Regions from separate parts of the Homo sapiens genome. Here region 1 is linked to region 2. The links are contacts of gene promoters, found by promoter capture Hi-C in human tissues and cell types (Jung and others, 2019). All regions are on one chromosome and are shown on one strand. The core of a region is centred on a gene start or on the middle of the fragment in contact, and the rest is flanking DNA. Distances in the headings are between cores, read along the strand shown.

What was found. Contacts are between HindIII fragments. The study calls those that stand out against the background at their distance.
Region 1: a fragment that was not itself captured here is called in contact with the fragment with the promoter of FOXF1 in region 2 in 1 of the 25 tissues and cell types used here (dorsolateral prefrontal cortex).

The regions. Positions count from the first base shown.
Region 1 is chr16:87,034,501-87,038,492 of GRCh38, reverse strand. No RefSeq gene overlaps it. Among named protein-coding and RNA genes, the nearest start is that of LINC02181, 21 kb to the left of the region's middle. The HindIII fragment of the contact is 9,812 bases long and covers 1-3,992 here.
Region 2 is chr16:86,508,580-86,512,422 of GRCh38, reverse strand. It overlaps FOXF1 (forkhead box F1), which reads right to left and starts at 1,896. Exons shown (of 2, transcript NM_001451.3): 1 at 875-1,896. The coding sequence starts at 1,853. It overlaps FENDRR (FOXF1 adjacent non-coding developmental regulatory RNA), which reads left to right and starts at 3,563. Exons shown (of 4, transcript NR_033925.1): 1 at 3,563-3,768. RefSeq lists an enhancer at 1-403. The HindIII fragment of the contact is 9,827 bases long and covers 1-3,843 here.

The DNA.
Region 1 (3,992 bases), core at 569-3,068, 530 kb before region 2:
CGTGCCCCAACCTCCTGAGTAGCTGGGATTACAGGTGTGAGCCACCATGCCCAGCTAATTTTTGTATTTTTAGTAGAGCCAGGGTTTCACCATGTTGGCCAGGCTGGTCTTGAACTCCTGACCTAAGGTGAACTGCCCACCTTGGCCTCCCAAAGTTCTGGGATTACAAGAGTGAGTCACTGCGCCTAGCCCCTTTGCATTTTTTTATGAGCCTCTCAAAGCACTAACCTGAGGAATATAATGCTATGAATGGATTCCCTGGAAACCTTTTTCTTCCTCTCAAATGCTCTGTGTGGAGCTGGTAGTCAGCTCTCCTGCATAAGGAAAGTGGCTGCCTGGTGGTCTCTGTGCTGGTTCCCAGTAGGGTCTGCATTGTCTCTATAGGATCAAAATTATTTTGTTTTCCTTGGGAGTTGGAGAAGAGTTTTAAACTCTTTTGGTGGAAAAAGTTACTCCTGCTTGAAGTTCAAGCTGTAAATGGGCCCACCTGTGGTACATGAACTTCCCTTTGTAACACCGCTCAGTATCTCCCCAGTAACACAACCTCCTGGGCCTGGTCTGATTTCCATTTACTCCCTTATAGTGCTCCTGGATTGGTGAAATCCATGGGCCACTTTCATTTGACCTGATTGTCCTCACTGACCTTGCAGGCTCAGAGAAAAACAAGACATGTCATAAAAATGACAAGAATTCTTGAATTTGGAATCACCGAGGAGTTCATATAGTAAAATCCATCTATAAAGTTCCTTGTTCTGCTACTAATTTGGTCACTCTGTGGGTTAAAACATATGTACCCTGAGCCGGGCATGGTGGCTCACACGTGTAATCCCAGCAGTTTGGGAGGCTGAGGCAGGTGCATCACCTGAGGTCAGGAGCTCAAGACCAGCCTGGCCAACATGGTGAAACCCTGTCTCTACTTAAAATACAAAAAGTTAGCTGCTCATGGTGGCAGGTGCCTGTAATCCCAGCTACTAAGGAGGCTGAGGCAGGAAAATGGCTTGAACCCGGGAGGCAGAGGTTGCAGTGAGCTGAGATCATGCCATCGCACTCCAGCATGGGAAACAAGAGTGAAACTCTGTCTCAAAAAACAAACAACCAACCCCATATGTCCCCTGTCCTTTGTGGGTGTAGAGGTAGCTCAGGAGGGGCTATCGGGAGGTCTGGGCTGAAGCCCTTCCTCCACCCATGGGTGGGGTATGACCGTGTACAGGTTCTCACCAAGCCTTGTTTGTTTCACTCATGCCCTGGAGGAATGCCCTGGCATTCCCAGTCCGTGCTACAGAGCCCCGCACCAGGATCTGGTATCACCATTTCCACGTCGCGATGAGGTGTGTGCCTCTCTAAATATAAAACCAAGAGGAATATCACACTCTCTCAATGCCTGGAAAAACATTTCATTTCCCTCCCATCTGTGTGTTTCTCTAATCAGAGTGCATTTTGTCACTGATGAGCACATATAGGCTGGCATCTCTTTGCTCCTTAAAATCTCTTAGCCAGTTGATGGTGAATCACAATCGATGTTGCCTTAGGATAGAAGAAATACAGTAATCATGAGGAAGGCTGCTCATCGATGGCCCCTCTGTGCCACTTGGTTTTACTTCTATTCCCTCACTCAGTCTTCACCAGCAACCTGTGAGGAAGACTCAGGTGAAGCAGGTGCCGGTGTTTCCATTTTGTGGCATAGAATCGGAGAGAGTGAGTCGCGTCTCCAAACTCACACAGCTGGTAACTGTTTTGATTTTGAACTCAGATCTAACTGTAGGCTGAATGGAAGCCTTTTTCATAAAATGTAGCTGTACATTATCAGACATTTTCCATGGGTACTCTGTTGAGAAGCCTTATTAGCTATAATTGTGTGTGGGGCTGCCATAAAGTCCCACAGACTGGGAGGCTCAGACAGCAGAAATGCCCAGCTCCGGAGGCTGCAAGTCTGAGGTCAAGATGCCTACAGGGTTGGTTCCTCCAAGGCCCCCTCCTTGGCTCGCAGACGTACGTCTTCTCCCTGGGTCCTCACGGGGACTTCCTTCCGTGTCTGTGTCCTCCTAATTTTCTCCTCTTATGAGGACACACCGGTTCTATTGAATTGGGGCCCACCCTGATGACCTATTTTACTCTCATCATCTCTTTAAAGGCTGTGTCTCCAAAGACAGTCGTGTTCTGAGGGACTGGGGGTTAGGGTGCAACACGGGATCCTTGAGAGAATCCAGTTCAGCCCCTATTTGTGTTCTTTCTTCTTCTGCAGGGTGGTCCCTTCTATCTTTTTTTTTTTTTTTTTTTTTTGAGATGGAATCTCGTTCTGTCGCCCAGGCTGGACTGCAGTGGTGCGATCTTGGCTCACTCTGCCTCCCAGGTTCATGCCATTCTCTTGCCTCAGCCTCCCAAGTAGCTGGGACTACAGGCGCCCGCCACCACGCCTGGCTAATTTTTTGTATTTTTTTTTTAGTAGAGATGGGGTTTCACTGTGTTAGCCAGGATGGTCTTGATCTCCTGACCTCATGATCCACCCACCTTGGCCTCCCAAAGTGCTGGGATTGCAGGCCTGAGCCACTGCGCCTGGCGACTTCTATCTTATTTTATGGATCTATCTCTTATCCTCTGTTTTAGCAAGATGGAGTTTTCCATATTAGAAATAATCAATTATTGGTAATAAAACAATTTCTCTCCTGAACAAACGGAACCTTTTAATTTGGTTGTGTGGATGCGGTATTCTTACGTGTCTCAAGAGCTGGTTAAGTAACCACATGAATGACGTTCTTGTGCCTGCTGTGTCAGGCCGGAGGTGTCCGAAAATGGACACAGGGTGTTTTCCTCGTGGTGACTGTTCTCACACGTATTTCTTCCGTGCACATACAAGCACACATGTGCACACACACCAGTATCTCCCAAAATGTGTCCTAGGAAGGGCATCCTATGAGAGGAATTAATACATGTCTTAGAGAGGGAAAAGTTTTTTTAAAATTAAATGTAGTTGAGAATATTATGCTAGACCAAGTGGACTAGAGTTCCCTGTGGCAGGATCTCTCGGAGTGTTTAACGTGCTGACTCTCTAATTTGTGAATCTCTAAGGTCTTAGAGTTTGCTGACCCCTGCTCTGCTCTATCTCTAAAGGGCCAGCTAGTAAAGCTTTTGGCTTCGTGGGTCATCTGGGCTGTCGCAAGGACACACTGAGCTGTTGTGGCAGGCAGCTGCCATGGACAGTCTATAATCAAATGGGCATGGCTGTGTTCCAATAAAACTTTATTTATAAAAACACGTGGAGGGTCCAACATGGCCCCGGGACATGGTTGGCCAGCCCTGTCTTAGAGTACCTTGTGCTTTCCAAGCGTATTGGACCATGAAGTTCTTTGCCAAGTGTTGCTGATGTCCCACAGGACACTTCATTCAGCCAGGGCCTGGAATCACAGCCCTGGGGCATCGTCCCACTGTCCCATGCCCATCGTCCTGTTCCTGCCGATGCCATAGCATGAGGGGATGCTCTTTGAGTATGCTCATCTGAGGACTTGGATAAATCATCCAGACTCCTATTCGGAATTTCTCCTAAATGATCCAAACCACACTGGGCTGGAAAAATTGCCCAGATAGGGTTCGCATACGTGATTTTTTTTCAGTACTTCTTGGGATCGGCAGAACTTGAGGCATGTTTTGTTACAGTACTTAGTGACTCTGGAGAGACCATGCTTTATGGAGAGCCTGATTTTTCCTTCTTTCAAATTAGTCATTTTCGTGCTGTCCTTGGGGCCTGTGTGTGTATATTTGAGGAGGGTGAAAGCAGAGAAAGGGTTAAAGTGGGAAGGAGGTGTGAGTCAGGCCTCGCATTTGTCAGCTACCGTCACTTATATTTAAAAAGTGTTCAGTCTTTGTCTTTAAGCTGATGGCTTTGAATTCATTTTGGACAGAGAGTTTTAAGAAAGGGGGAACTGTTTGTATTAAGGCAGATGTGGATATAGTCTTTCAAGGTGCTAAATTTGTGCTGACTTGGTCCAAAATACAAC
Region 2 (3,843 bases), core at 647-3,146:
GGCTGCCTAAGGCCTCCAGGCCTGGCTCCTGCCTCCTGGGGCTGCTGACAGCTGACCCTGGACTGGCCCTGGCAAGCTCACTCCAGCTTTTTCCAGAGCTGGGCCTGCAGGCTGCGGGGGGCCTGGGGCAGAATCAGGAGGCGAGGCTGCTGCATCTCCCTTGGCAGATGCTTCTGCATGTTCGGGGTATTGGGGTATCAGGGGTGTTGGGGGTGTGGGGACCTGAAAACTTGGATCCTAAAAAACAAGGAGCCCCCATGGCCCGGTCTGCAGCTCTGACCCTCCGGGGCCTGGCCACGGCACCCTCCTGCCTCAGTCACCACAAAATGCCCCTGGACTCAGCTGTGGGTCTGCCAGGTCTGGTCCCCTGAAAGGCCGGGGCTGAGCCTCTGAGCGCTGGCCCAGCGGCTTTGGGCCTAACACCTTCCGTTCCGCCCAGCCCCAGGCAGAGGCAGCCCTCCAGGCAGCCTGAGGGCCACCACCAGGGAGGGACAGCCATCTGGCCAGCGCTGGGAGCCTTGGGTCCATCCCAGGATCTTTCCAAGCTGTGAGGGGACTTAAGGGACACAAAAGGACTTAGGGCACTGGGGTCTGGGACATCTGGCTCAGGACCAGCCTACCTGGTCAGGCCTGGAGCAGCTGGCAGCTGGAGTTCGAACAGAAAGAGAAACAGATTGGCCCAAACTAGGGTCAAGAGCGGTAGTCACTCTTCGAAGGGGGAGAGGTGGGGCCAAGAGACACCTTGGGGAGCTGGTGCCTCCCCTCAGCCTTGGGGTTCCGACCACAGAAGTGGAGGGGCTCGCCCCAGCTGGGTCCCGCTGCCACTCAGACTCGACTTCCCGGGGACCAGGGCGCCCTCGGCCTCCCCACTCACCTTGCAGCTCGGCTGGGGCGTTGTGGCTGTTCTGGTGCAGATACGGCTGCTCCAGGGAGTGCGTGGAGAGGCTGCCGGACAGGGGGTTGGCCGCGGGGTTACAGGGGGACAGGGGCTGCTGCTTGATATAAGAGGCGCCGCTGTTGAGCGCCGCGGACGCCGAGGGCGGCCAGGCCGCCGCCGAGCCCGAGTAGACGGCGTGCGGCTCCATGACCCCACCGGCGCCGGTGGGCAGCAGCGGGGAGGCGGGCACCGAGCTGTCGTGGTGCGGGTACTCGCCGGCCGCCGCGCCGCCGCAGCCGCCCATGTACGAGTGGCCGCCGTTGGAAGGCAGGTGGGGCACCGAGTGGCTGGGCAGGGCCATGCCGTCCACGTTGCCCGGCAAGTGGCCGTTCATCATGCCCAGGCCGCCCTCCAGCGCCAGGCTGTTGGGCGGGCACGAGAGGCCGCCGGCCGAGCCCTGGAAGCCGTAGGTGTCCGGGAGGTGGTTGAAGCCGAGCCCGTTCATCATGCTGTACATGGGCTTGAGCGCCTGGCATTTCCTTCGGAAGCCGCGCGGCCGCCGCCGAAAGGAGCCCTCCTCGAACATGAACTCGCTGGCCGGGTCGATGGTCCAGTAGTGGCCCTTGCCGGGCCGCCCAAGGCCCTTGGGTAGCTTGATGAAGCACTCGTTGAGCGAGAGGTTGTGGCGCACGGAGTTCTTCCAGCCCTGGTAGGAGCCCCGGAAGAAGGGGAAGCGGCTCTGCAGGAACTGGTAGATCTCGCTCAGCGTCAGGCGCTTGGTGGGTGAACTCTGGATGGCCATGACGATGAGCGCGATGTAGGAATAGGGCGGCTTCTCCGGGCGCCGGATGCCGGCGTTGGTCTTCTTGGCCTTGGACGGGCCGGACGACGCGGGGTCCATGGCCGCGCCGCCTCCCCCGCCGCCGCCGCCGCCGCCGCCGTGCGGTGGCTGCTGCTTCTCGGGCGCCGAAGACATCGGGTGGCTGCTGCCGCCGCCGCCGCTGCCGCCGCTGCTCTGCGCCGCGGACGGGCCGGGAGGAGGAGGAGGAGGAGGAGGAAGAGGACGACGGGGGGGAGGAGGGCGAAGGGGAGGGGGCTGCGCGCGCGGGGCTGGCTGCACCTCTGCCGTCATCGGCGGCCACTTCTCCCGAGCGAGCCGCGGCGCGCCCGCCCCCGCGCTCCCGCCCGCCCTCCCCGAGGAGCTGCTGGATCCGCCGGCGGTTGGCTCAGAGCCCCTCTCTCTCCAACTCCCGCCTCCCCCACCTCTCTCCTCCCTCTTTCTTTCTCGCCCTCCCACAAGGAAAGGAGCCGAGCTGAGGCCGAGGGCAGCCCGGGCGAAGGCCGTGAGGAAGCTACCCCCGCCGGTATTTTTTGGGGGGAGGCACCACCTCCAGGTCTTACGGCCGTGCGCCCCAGCCGGGAGCAGCCCTGAGTCCCCGCCGCCCGCGGCGCTCGGCTCCGAGATTCCGGGCGAGGCAGCCTTCACTCCATCTCCGCTCGGCTGCGTCTCGCGGGTCGGCCTAAGACCCTCCCGGAGTTCCCTCCCTCCGTCCCTGCCCCCCTCGGGCCCCCGCGTTGGTGGGCGCTTAAAGAGCCCCCACTCTCGCCGCCCCGCGGCCGCCAGCAGAATCCGCCCCGCCTCCACCAACCTGGCGAGCAAGTGTTAATGCGCCCTCCGCCCGCGGTTCAGCCCCGGTGCGCGCTGGACCCCGCCTTCCCCGCCCGGGCGGCGCGGCGGGAAACGCTCCCTGGGCCGGGGCCTTCCCCGACGCGCACAGCCCTGTAGCAAATCGCAAGTGCGGCGGCCTCCCGGTCGTGACCATCGCAGGCACAGCCGGCTCGACTCCGGTCCTCGCGGCCGGCCGGCTAAGTTCCCGCGAGGGACCGCCTACCCACTCTCCCCGCCCCGGGAAGAACTGCGCCGCTCCCGGGATTTTTCGGACTCGCCCAGCAGCTTGCGAGCGGGCGGGCAGCCGCCGGGGCAGAGCGCAGGCGGAAAACGAAAGCGCAGCACGAGTCGCGGCCGCTTTGTCTCGGGCGCCGCGGGCCTGACGGGGGCGAGTGAGAACCCGCTGGCCCAGAGGCGACCCAGACCGCACAGGCCCCTGAATAAGCGGCGTGCTCAGTCACTCACCCGTGCGCGCACACCCTCGCGCTCTTGTCCACACATTAGCACACACATACATGTCTTGATGCACATGCAAACCCGGTAAATTACGCAAACAGACGTGTAAACACACCCATGCGTGTGTGCACACTCATATGCAGAGGGCGCTCAGGCATGTGCGCACCCACTAATGCACTCGTTGACACGGAAGCTTAAGGCCCACAGGAGCTTAAGTTCGCACTCACTCCCACTCACGCGTACACACGCCACGCTCGGATCTGAACTCACACGTAGTTCAGTTGCCCTCCCCCACCCCCAACACACACTGAAAACCCGCCTATTTGGCCCCGCGGCCCCGTTTTCAAAGCGCAGGTTCCGATTTCCCGAGAGATGGCAAAGGCCCTGGCAGGAAGTTTACAGGGTTTAACGTAAACAAGTTCTGGGGGATTCTTTAATAATAATAATAGAGAATTCCGCGTGCGCAGGGCGGGAGGGGGGAGTTGGCCTAATGCCCCTGTGGGCTCGGCCTGCCGCCGCCGCGGGGCCTCTGACACTGCGCGCCAGGCCAGGTTCCTGAGAGCAGACAGCGCGGGCTGGGAGCGCCGGCAAGGGCGGCCCTCGCGCACCTGGCTGCCAGCCCGCAGGGGGCTCGCACGCAGACCTGCCCTTGCCACCTCAGCGCTCGGGTGCGGGCTGGGGGCGGTGGAGCCACGAAAGGTGGTGCCGAGAGCGGAGCGCAGGACAGCGCAGGAGCCCCGGCGCATCGCGGCGCGCACAGACCCAGGTGAGTGCTGCTCTCGCAGCGACTGCTGGCCGGGCGCGGCCTCTCCCTCCAGGGTTCCGAGTTGAGAAGAGGGGG